Linked DNA regions of Homo sapiens: region 1 is linked to region 2. The links are contacts of gene promoters, found by promoter capture Hi-C in blood cells and fetal thymus (Javierre and others, 2016). All regions are on one chromosome and are shown on one strand. Each heading gives the region's core, a stretch centred on a gene start or on the middle of the fragment in contact. The rest is flanking DNA. Distances are from core to core; before and after follow the strand shown.

Evidence for each region. Contacts are between HindIII fragments. The CHiCAGO score rates a contact against its expected background, and 5 or more counts as called.
Region 1: a fragment that was not itself captured here is called in contact with the fragment with the promoter of ZC3H13 in region 2 in 1 of 17 cell types (total CD8 T cells); the score reaches 5.1 in total CD8 T cells.

What each region holds. Positions count from the first base shown.
Region 1 is chr13:44,911,238-44,916,722 of GRCh38, reverse strand. All of the region lies in intron 1 of LOC107984619 (a long non-coding RNA gene), which reads left to right. Among named protein-coding and RNA genes, the nearest start is that of TRE-TTC2-1, 4.0 kb to the left of the region's middle. The HindIII fragment of the contact is 1,285 bases long and covers 930-2,214 here.
Region 2 is chr13:46,051,065-46,057,273 of GRCh38, reverse strand. ZC3H13 (zinc finger CCCH-type containing 13) reads left to right here and starts at 4,528. Exons shown (of 19, transcript NM_001330564.2): 1 at 4,528-4,870. CPB2 (carboxypeptidase B2) reads left to right here. Exons shown (of 11, transcript NM_001872.5): 10 at 1,425-1,512; 11 at 3,476-4,088. The coding sequence ends at 3,660. It overlaps CPB2-AS1 (CPB2 antisense RNA 1), which reads right to left and starts at 4,426. Exons shown (of 3, transcript NR_046227.1): 1 at 4,309-4,426. RefSeq lists enhancers at 4,363-4,562, 4,573-4,742, 4,272-4,807, 4,808-5,344. The HindIII fragment of the contact is 2,282 bases long and covers 3,613-5,894 here.

The DNA of each region.
Region 1 (5,485 bases), core at 323-2,822, 1.1 Mb after region 2:
CTCACTGCAACCTCTGCCTCCCGGATTCCGGCGAGTCTGCTGCCTCAGCCTCCCGAGTAGCTGGGGTTACAGGGGCCCACCACCATGCCCAGCTAATCTTGTATTTTTAATAGAGATGGGGTTTCCCCATGTTGGTCAGGCTGGTCTAGAACTCCTGACCTCAGGTGATCCACCCACCTCGGCTTCCCAAAGTGCTGGGATTACAGGCGTGAGCCACCGCACCGGGCCTATTTTTATTTTTTGATTATTATTTTAGATTATTTTACTCTCAGATGATATTATTATCCCTGTATCAATCGCGGCCCTGTAGGAAACTCGTGATATATTCTTAGCAGAGTGCTTAATCAAGGATTATTTAAGTTTTTCTTAGGGTTTAGGGAAACAAGAAGGGGTAATGCAGCTCTCACAGCTCCTGAGCCTAAGGGGCAAGGCCAGGGAGGATAGCTGATGCCGGGGGCTGCCAGGCAGAAGCTGTGTAGTTTTTGTTTGTTTTAAACTTGTTTTTAGGCCAGGGGCAGTGGCTCATGGCTATAATCCCAACACTTTGTGAGGCCGAGGTGGGAGTATCACTCGAGCAGGAATTGGAGACCAAGACCAGCCTGCACAGCGTAAGGAGACACCGTCTCAAAAATAAAAAAATAAAAAAAAAAAAAAAATTTGCCAGGCAGTGGTGCGTGCCTGTAGTCCTAGCTGCTCAAGAGGCTGAGGTGGGAGGATCGCTTGAGGCCAGGAGTTCGAGGCTGCAGTGAGCTATGATTGCTGCTGCACTCCATTCTGGGCTAGTGAGATCCTGTCTCCAAAAAGCAAGACAAAACTGCTTTCAGATGGCAGGTGAATTCCATTTATATGAAGGCTGTCATGTCTACTCATCCTATTAATCATTCATTTTCATAAAATAGAGTTTTGACCTCATGGATTTGACAGAAGCTTTCTTGAGATGGCTGTAATATTTGGTGGACTCAGAGCATAGTAGATATTTCTGAAGACAGGTACTTAATGATATGAAAGGGTTTCACTTTGTGGGGAGATGGTTACTTCAGTTATATTTGGCATTTTTATGGCTTTCCCTTTTTGTAAAACATTTTGCCATAACTTCCATTCATCATCCTCATAGTCTTTAGATTCATAGACTATTTGAGCTGGAAAGGCCCTTAGCAGTCGTTTAACTTAGACCCTCGTTTTACCCGGGAAACATCTATTCTGAGATTTTATTTCTCTGATTCCCTAGTATTGGACTTTAGATTGTATCCACAAAAGATTGAATTCCTGTCTGGTGCTCTAGCCAGACACCACTCTCTCCAAATCCTGGCGTCAAGGAGCGGGGCTTAGGGGGATTGAGTGCAGAGAAGATTCAATTATTTTTATTTATTTATTTATTTATTTATTTATTTATTTATTTATTTATTTTGAGATAAGGTCTCCCTCTGTCACCCAGACTGGAGTGCAGTGGCGCGATCTCAGCTCACTGCAATTTCTGACTCCTGGGTTGGAACGATTCTCGGGTCTCAGCCTCCTGACTAGCTGGGATTTTAGGTGTGCGCCACCGCACCCAGCTAAGTTTTATGTTTTTAGTAGAGATGGGATTTCACCATGTTGGCCAGGCTGATCTTGAATTCCTGACCCCAAGTGATCCGCCTGCCTCAGCCTCCCAAAGTGCTGAGATTACAGGCGTGAGCCACCGTGCCTGGCCAAAAAAATATTCTCTTGTATTTTTGGTCAGTGTTCACAGCATAGCTGCATAAACATAGTAGTAATTTTTCTACGTGAAGTTTTTTTTTAAAAAAATTCATCATATATAATCATTTCTAGAAAGTGATGAGCTTAACCTGTTTGGGGTATTTGAACTAACCATGTGTTCCTGTATGCTTTCATTTTTGCATATAGTCATAAACTCTGATGGATTCCACATGAAAATTGCTTTGTGCCCCTCAACAAGTGTATTTATAGTCATGCAGATTCATATGTATGTTCCCTCAGAGTATATCTGATGCCGCATGCAAAAATATCCTAAATAATTACATTAACACTTCATATATTAATATGAAAGCAAATATGAATTTTAACTCACCCACACTGTAAAGCTGAATAACTTGGAAAAACACTGACTACTTGGAAAATCACTGGAACAAATAATCAAAAAATCAATTTGCAAACTTCTAGAAGACCACAGGGCACTGGGTAATCATCCCACATTACTTTGTGAAAAACAAAGCTTATCAGATGAATCTAATTTCCTTTTGTCGCAGAGTGACAGCCATGGTAGATGGGGGAGCAATCAACATAATCTATCCTGATTTAAGAAAGCTTGGGATTTTGCAACTTGTTGTGTACTCATTAAGAAAATGTAGGTATGGCCGGCATGGTGGCTCATGTCTGTAATCCTAGCACTCTGGGAGGCCGAGGTGGGTGGATAGCTTGAGCTCAAGAGTTCCAGGCCAGCTTGGGCAAAAAAGCGAGACACCCTCCCAACCCCGGCACCGTCTTCTACCCCTCCCCGCCGCCCGTCTCTACAAAAAACACAAATCGCTTCCTCCTGCCCCTCGTCTCTACAAAAAACACAAAAAAATAGCTGGTGGTGCACGCCTGTAGTCCCAGCTACTCAGGAGGCTGAGATGGGAGAATGGCTTCAGCCTGGAAGGTAGAGGTTGTAGTGAGCCGAAATCGCACCACTGCACTCCAGCCTGGGAGACAGAGCCAGACTCTGTTTCAAAAAAAAAAAAAAAAAAAAAAAAAAAAGAAAGAAAGAAAGAAAGAAAATGTAGGTAAGACTATTCCTGTTTCATAGGGATACAGTCAAACTGAAGTTGGGGGCTCAGCTTTATGCAAATAGGCAACTTCAACACAGTATGTGCAAAAGTGACCTCTTTCTCCTTCCCAAGTCCTTTTCTACTTGGATTACTTATTTTTTAGTGTCATCCAAGATCTCCTTGTTTGAGTTACTTAATCTCTCTGTTCCTCAGTTTTCTAGAATCTAACGTGGGGATAAGAATGGGACCTACTTCATAGGGTTGTGAAGATTAAATGACATAATGCGCATAAAAGGCTTAGCCCAGTTTAAGGCCATCACCGTCATCATCATCACCATCATCATCATTGTCATCATTGGCATGTTTAGTCCCTCTTTCTCCTCCACTCGCACCACGTCTAATTAAAGCTTATTTTATTTTACTATTTATTTATTTTATTATTTTATTAAATCTTATTTCTACCTCTTCAGTTATGCTCACATATATTCTTATCTACTTCCCTGGCCACTCTGCTGGTTTAAATCATCTTGTTCTCTGGACTATTGCAATAGGCACCACACTGGTTTCCCTGACCCCATCTTGCCCATCTTCTCTATCTTGCATTCTCCTGGCTGTTACAGCGCAGAGCTGAACATGCTGCTTCCCTGCCCTAAACCCGAAGAGCTTTGTCTTGCTGAGTGCTCCCAATCTGCCTTTGCAGCCTAATTCCTACCTCTTCCCTCCATGTATCCTAGATTCCTGTTAATTTCACACTGTTTCCTGTATCTGGCCTTTACTCAATTTTTCTTCTACTTGAGACGCTCTTATGCCCTTTCTCTAAATATCTACATCTTATCCATCCTTTAAGGCTCAATTCGAACATCACATGGTTCCTATAGCTTCCCTTACCTCTCCTGTGGATGCTGGTTGCTTCTGATTCCCATGGCATCTTGTGTACTTCTCTTCCTATACTTACTCCTTTCTAAAGTTAGGTCCTAGCTTAGATGTCATTTCTGCCCTGACTGTGGGTGAGATGCTTTCTCTGCACATTTCCCTCTCATTGCATTTACCACACTTGTTGTGGCCCTGCTAGATTTTACTCTCCAAGGCCAGTGCCGTGCACACAGTAAACACTTAATAAGCATGTGTTGAAGGATGTGTGAGCAGGACAAGGACTTTATTGATTGGAATACCTTAAGTTTCAAGTTACAGAAAGCCATTGGAACTCCACTAGGGGAGGATTGTTGGCTAATGTAACCAAACTGTGTGAAGTAGAATGGGATGGCTGGCCTTGGGGACAATCAGAATCAGTGTTTTCTCTCTGTGTGTCAGATTTATTCTTAGCTATCATGGACCAACTGCTTCCACATGGCAAGGGATCTGGGCACTCTGGCTCAGTACTCATTCCTCCCAGCTTCCCCACCCGAGAAGGAAGGTCTTTCTTAGTTTCTGTTGGAAAGTGCTGGGGGAATGTGACCTCGCCTAGGCCCTGGGCCCTGCCTAGGGTTGATGAATATGGGGTATTATGATTGGCAGCTCCTATTAGAACCACAAGGTAGAGAGGAAGGATGAACTGGTATTAAAGTTAAGCCAGAGAAATTAAAATAGTGGTAGTTTAACATAAAGAGTGGTGATTTACCATATTTACAAGGTTGCACAACTTTGTAAACATACTAAAAAGCCCTGAATTGTAAAAGACTGAATTGTATGGAATCTGAATTATATCTCAATTAAGAAAAAATTAAGCCAGAGATGAAATCTTGCTGGCAAAAATAAGCATTTCTATATTCTTTATATTTGGGCTATTCATGTATTCAGCAAACATTTACAGTGTGTCTAGTATGTGCTGGCAGTTATCTAGATTTACACTGTAGTGGGAAATAGCACACGCACAAACACACAAAAAGGGTAAGAGGGTTGGATTTCATTCTAAATGTGATGGGAAAGCTCTGGAGGTTTAGGGGTGGAGAGAGGTCCACCCCCTGGATGAGGACCTTCTGGACTCTAGGGCCTTCTGGCTGGTGCTCTGCTGTGGTCAGCACAAACCACACCTTGGAAGGAAGATGAGACTGTTTTAAGAGGTCTCTTGAGATGGATTCCAGAACCCTCATTTTCAGAATTTGGCAATTTTGTCCTAAAATAAAGTTTTCCTTGTGGACTAACCCAGATCACAGTATGCTTTGCTTTAAGGCTATTTGCCCAGATTTAGCAAATCTGCAATATTTGAGGGCACAGTTTCAAGACTGCCCTCACTTCTAACACCAACTGCAAGTTTGGGGGAGTTTCCAATACCACCCTCAGGTTTGATGATGTTCTAGAAAGATTCCAATAACTCAGTGGAAGCTGCAATATTCACAGTTATGGTTTACTGCAGGGAAAAGACAGAGACTGAAATCAGCCAAAGGAAGGGACAGAGTCTGGGAGGGTTCTAACTGCAAAACTTCTGTTGCCCTCTTTCCATGTGGAGTGTGTGGGCCCTCCTGATACTAATGTGTGACAAGATACATGCAGTATTGACAACCAGGGAAGCTCACCTGAACTTTGTTATCCAGAGTTTTTATTGGGGCTTCATTATGTACGCATGATTGATTGATTGTCTGTGTGATTGAACTCAGCCTCCAGCTTGAGTGATACCATGTGACACAAAGCCCCCACTCTAAGGCACATGGTTGGTCTTTCTAGCACGACTACCTCCCACCCTAAGACTACTGAGTATGGCCAGCCCCACCCTACAATCTGAAGGGATCAGCCCCTGCCTT
Region 2 (6,209 bases), core at 3,279-5,778:
TCTTCTCAAGGGAAAACTGTTAAGGAAAGCACCTTTCAAAAATATTATCTTTGAAGAAATAAAAGGAAATTTATCATGATTTGGGAAGTAGAATTAGTCTAATTATGCTTTTTTTTTTTTGCATCACTGCCAGCACACATATATGTTGAGAGCCATTACGTGTAAAATACCTTGTCAATGGATGTTTAAAGAAGCATTAGGTAAAATCCTGCCCTTTAAGAGAATGTGTTATGGTTAGGGAGCTCAACCATTAGCAAATGTTACAAATAGTTGTACTCTAAGGCGACATAGAGTAACTACTAAATACGTGGCACAGACAGTACAACTCACTTCTAACTAGAATATCAAGGGATGGCTTCACTAATGCATTCAGAGGGAAATGCTGAGATAAGTGAGGAGATAAAGTAGTTACTGTCCTTGAGGAATTTACAATCTATTAAGGGGGGGAAAAACTACAAATAATAAAGTGCTGTTGATGTCAAAGATCAGCTACATTTTAGACAGGCATTGAAAGAGGATTTCTATAGGCAGACAGGGAAGGAAGGACCTTCCAAGCAAAGAAGTTGGTGTTCACCATAAGAGGATGCAAAAGTGGAGGGTGATAGCATCAGAAAGTAGATTAGGTTGGCTTCTGAAGGGGTGTGACTGTCAGATAAATTTGTATTTCATTATGTAGACAATGGGGTTACATTAAAACTTATTTTTTGAACAATGAGATGGCATAAAATAATATCCGCTGATAAATCTCTTGAGTTTTTCAAGAAGGTGACAGTGTATACCATGATGCTAGTTCCAATTTCCGAAAAGTTCCAGATAAGTGAGAACTTCAGAATAGATTTGACAAAATGAATATCAACAGACAAAATGAAGTCAAATGGGGGTCTTAGTTATTATCCTGCTCCATACCAGAGGCATAATCTTTTTTGATTTGATGAATCTATGGAAGTCATTAGACATTTTACACAAGAAGAAAATAGAAGTTGTGAGAAGGATAAGAAGTGAGTCATGCATGCATTAGGTGTTTGTATGTGTTTAGAAAGGTTGGATTTAAAGTTTGGTGATAATTTTGTTCAGAAATGGAGTACCTCTAAGCCTTTGAGATGTAGTTATACTTCATTTTCCATAATAAATGAGTTCCCAAAAAGGCATGTGATAATTTTTTTCTGCAAATTAATATATTTATTTATATAAATTATTTCAATATATTGAAATAGTTTATGTTTAAAGCCACCCAATTGTGATTGCCATAAAGTGCACATATTTTAAATTAATTTGTTTACCTTATTTATTTGCCTTTTAGATGAATCTAGATTTTCTACCTGTATACTTTGATTCAATTAATGTATGATTATTTTTTAGAAACTTCTACTTGTCATGTTTCAAAGCTGCACATTAACTGAAATTCTATATCTTGTTGCTTCCAGTCTCTAGTAGCCAGTGAAGCAGTTCGTGCTATTGAGAAAATTAGTAAAAATACCAGGTATACACATGGCCATGGCTCAGAAACCTTATGTAAGTATTTCTTCTTATGATCTTAGAGAACTTTGAGCTACTAAAGAAATCTGTGTGATCTGTTTTTCTTTGTGTATTTAATTTTTCTGAATTAAATAGGGTCACATGTAATACAACTGAATTGTAATAATTAGGAACAGAAGCATAATAGCTATGACAATGCTGAACAAAGCTATATTAATAAATGAGTTACTAAAAAGAAGCCAAAATCCTATTTAAGAAATCATATTTATCACAATCAAGTAGGAATTACAGAATTGGCATCATACTAGTTGAGTGAAGCAGAAAAGTTCATAAAACTTTTGCATGATTCCCAGGGCCACCATGGAAGGTTGTGCAGGTTGTACACTACACTAATCTAGGGCATGCCATTTGCATCAAGTGTTTTTTAGTGTTAGCCTGTTCCCAAGAGTATAGCTCATAACACATTACAGTTGATTGTCTTTAATATATATTACACACACAAAACTTGTGACAAACTCTTAACAAAAAGTTTTGATTAATTTTTGCTGAAAGATATTTAGTGAGTAACTCCTATCTACACACAGTGGGAGGACAGACTGATTTTGCCCTTTTGAAGTTTGAAGGGAGATGGGAAAAGAGGAGCATAAAATAAACCTGTAACCAGGCATCAGAAAACTACAGCCTGAAGGCCAAATCCAGGTTTTTCCTTTTTTTTTTTTTTTTAATGATTAGAAAAAAACAAAAAGAGGCCAGGTGCTGTGGCTCATGCCTGTAATACCAGCACTTTGGGAGGCTGAGGCAGGAGGATCACTTGAGGTCAGGAGTTCGAGACCAGACTGGCCAACATGGTGAAACCCTGTCTCTACTAAAAATACAAAAATTAGCTGGGCATGGTGGCAGGCGCCTGTAATGCCAGCTACTTGGTTGGCTAATGCATAAGAATTACTTGAACCTGGGAGGTGGGGGTGGCAATGAGCTGAGATTGTGCAACTGCACTCTAGCCTGGGTGACAGAGTGAGACTCCATCTCAAAAAAGGTCGAAACTGTATTTATCATGAACACTAAAATATGTACACATTTTAGTTAACATGCATTAAACTGTAACAAGTCTTCTGGCAATTGTAGCTTTCATGAGATGCTTCCCAAACTGTATTAGATAGATGCTAAAATTATAAATTAAAATTTTGGGTCAGACTTTGCCATAAACCTGGACTCAATTTAGCACCCCCCCAAAAAAAGTCAGATTATTCAATTAATGCGGTTGGAAAACCTAACAAGTTACCTAGAAAAAAATTAATTGGATTATTAACATGTCTTTCACCAAAGTAAATTCCAGGTACAGCATATATTTTCATATGAAAACCCTGCATAAACCAAGTTGAAATCTCAGTAAGGAGAAAAAATTCTTGTGAAAGGAGAAATGAATGAAAGGAGAAAAAAAGGTCTACATGCCAAACAAAGCTAATAACACTAATGTCGTTTTTATAAGCAATTGATAAAATGAACCAAGTAGACAAATGAGGAAGGACAATTGATAGGAAATATAAAGATAGCCAATAAATATGCCAAACAAATGTGCAACTCACTGATAATCAAAAAACATAAATTAAGACAGTTGGATATTATTTTTCGCCCATAAAATTATCAGAATTCATAATTCCTATTGATGGTATGGGAAGGGGAAATGGGCAAATTCATACCCTGCTTGTGGAAGTATAAATGAATTCAGTTCTTTTGACGTCCATTTGGGAACATGCCGTAATTGCAAAAAGTACAGAGCCTTAGACTAGCAAATCTATTCTAGGGAAGAATATTCTAAAGAGACAAAGAAGCAATTATGTATAAACAAGGGTACTCATTGTAAAGTTGTTTATATTAGTTAAAAACTGAAAAAAATCTAAAGGTATACAAACAAATAAACATTTAAATCAAACAATTCCCAGTTTGTAAATTAATTTGAAACGTCTGTATTTCAACAATTTCTTTCTTCTTCTTTTAGACCTAGCTCCTGGAGGTGGGGACGATTGGATCTATGATTTGGGCATCAAATATTCGTTTACAATTGAACTTCGAGATACGGGCACATACGGATTCTTGCTGCCGGAGCGTTACATCAAACCCACCTGTAGAGAAGCTTTTGCCGCTGTCTCTAAAATAGCTTGGCATGTCATTAGGAATGTTTAATGCCCCTGATTTTATCATTCTGCTTCCGTATTTTAATTTACTGATTCCAGCAAGACCAAATCATTGTATCAAATTATTTTTAAGTTTTATCCGTAGTTTTGATAAAAGATTTTCCTATTCCTTGGTTCTGTCAGAGAACCTAATAAGTGCTACTTTGCCATTAAGGCAGACTAGGGTTCATGTCTTTTTACCCTTTAAAAAAAATTGTAAAAGTCTAGTTACCTACTTTTTCTTTGATTTTCGACGTTTGACTAGCCATCTCAAGCAAGTTTCGACGTTTGACTAGCCATCTCAAGCAAGTTTAATCAATGATCATCTCACGCTGATCATTGGATCCTACTCAACAAAAGGAAGGGTGGTCAGAAGTACATTAAAGATTTCTGCTCCAAATTTTCAATAAATTTCTGCTTGTGCCTTTAGAAATACAACCATGCATTCCGTTTGCTCCACGGTAATTAGGCGATGGCCCAGAAAGGGGAGGGGTGTCAAAAACGACAAACATAGCCTCTCATTCCAGCTCAGCTGCTCAATAAACACTGTTGAACGAATGAATGAGTGGCTCTAGGTACTGTCAACAAATGCCGCATTTTGCGCATTTACAACAGCTGTTTATGGTAAGGAATTATGTAATAAAAAGAGAAAACTCACTTAAATTCACTTTTAATTGGGAATTTTAGTTCTCCCGGGCTCCCAGTTTCCTTTCCTAGGATCTCTCACAGAGCACAGATTCGATTTCCAAGTCCCGCCGCACTCTTACCGCTCGCATGGAACCTTACGCCTAGAGGGCGTGTCCACGAAGGGTGGTGTCTGCGCACTGACGACTAATCTGACGGCCGGAAGCTGCCTGGGTCTACAGAGGAACAGGGCAAACCTCTGACTTCCGGCGGCATTTTGAGGCGGTCCTCCTAGCGGCCTGGTAGTGTTTTTGTTGCCTTTTCTTAATCTACAATCTCTTCGTTATTTTTCTTCCTGCGACCCAGTTTCGCTTGACCCTGGAGAGGCGGCGGGCGGGTTGGTTCTGCTTCTCAGCCATCCCGGGGGCTCCTCGCTAGCCAAGAGCCGGTTCCCGGGAGCCGCGCGCGCATCGCTTTCTCCTCGTCGTCGTCCTCCTGGGTCCAGGCGCGGGGACAGAGTCGCCTCCCCCGCTCCTCGGAGCGGCGGCGGCGGTGGTGCCTCCGGACTGCACTTGCGAAGGGAGCTTGGGGAGGAAGTAAGCGTTCTGTGAATTGGTGTGGGTATCTGGGGAAGGCATTGAGCGGACCCGTAATGCGGAGGCCCGGGTTACCCCCCCCCGTCTTTGCTTGAGTCACTGGGATTTTGAGCTTTCCTTGAGCATCCCACCCTTAACTCTGCAATAGCCCCCTGTGCTCAGGCGTAATTTCTCACTCTGATTATGATTCTGGCATTTGTCTAAGGGCGATAAGTAGACTCAGACAATAGGCTGTACCCCTCGTTACCATTTGATGTAAGCACGGGAACCCTTGTATGGTGTTCGTATTTGTGTGCGATGGAAGGGTGCAGCAATTTGGGCTTAAATTTAGAATCTTCCTCTATACTCATTCCAGATCTGTTAGAGAAAAACATCTTACTTGTGATTGGTCTTGTTTTTTTTTTTTTCCCTCAGCAGTGATAACGATTTAGGTCCTGGGAATTGAGTGCTACTTTATCTTCACAAGCCTTAGGTAGGTAGTTTTGGCAACTGTCAGAAACGGGGGAAAGTGGAATAGAAAGAAGAGAGTCTGTTTGGCGGCATTATCTCTCTGTAATAGGCTAACGCAATTTATGTGGTTTGAAAATTATTTAGAGTTGATAATACTTGAATTATGTTGGTAAGATGTTGTTTGTGAAGGGTAGTCTTAAGGTATTTGGTTATACTATGGGGCTTTCAGGTAATTCGAACTACTTTGAAAATTATGGGAGTATGAAGTCTCTTAAGATTTTTGGATTTTTAAAGTAGTTTTAAAAATTTGGAAAACATCTTTACACCTCAAGTTTTCGAAGTCCGCGATACCGTTGGAGAATAAATACTTATGCAGTTCAGTCTATGGGTATATGGTGCCAGTTAGCGGGGTCTAGTTCTGTAACATTTGAAATTACTGGCTTTAGTACAATATATTGGAGCGTTTTGTGAATACAATCTATAGATTTTCAAATAATTTTTATTTTCTTAATGAACTATTTAGATTATAACAGATGACAGTTTCAACTAGAGACTAGCAAAGTTGATGCAAGCTTGTAACAATTGCGGCTTTAAAAATAGTTGCACTCTGAAACTAAGGCTTTCACTCTGTGCATCTGGTAGGATTCAGTTTTATCAAATGTATGCCTCTTACTGGCTTCCTGATTACTGGTCATTCTAAATGAACATTGCATATTTTGAGATTTGCAAGCTTATGTGATTTTCATATTTGTAATATGAATTTAACATACTAAAAATCCAGCAAGTGGATGGTATCTTAACATCTTTACAAATTATTAAAATTGTAATATCATCAGTATTTATAATATGCATTGGCATTTACATAGAGGAAACACATTGTTTAACTTAA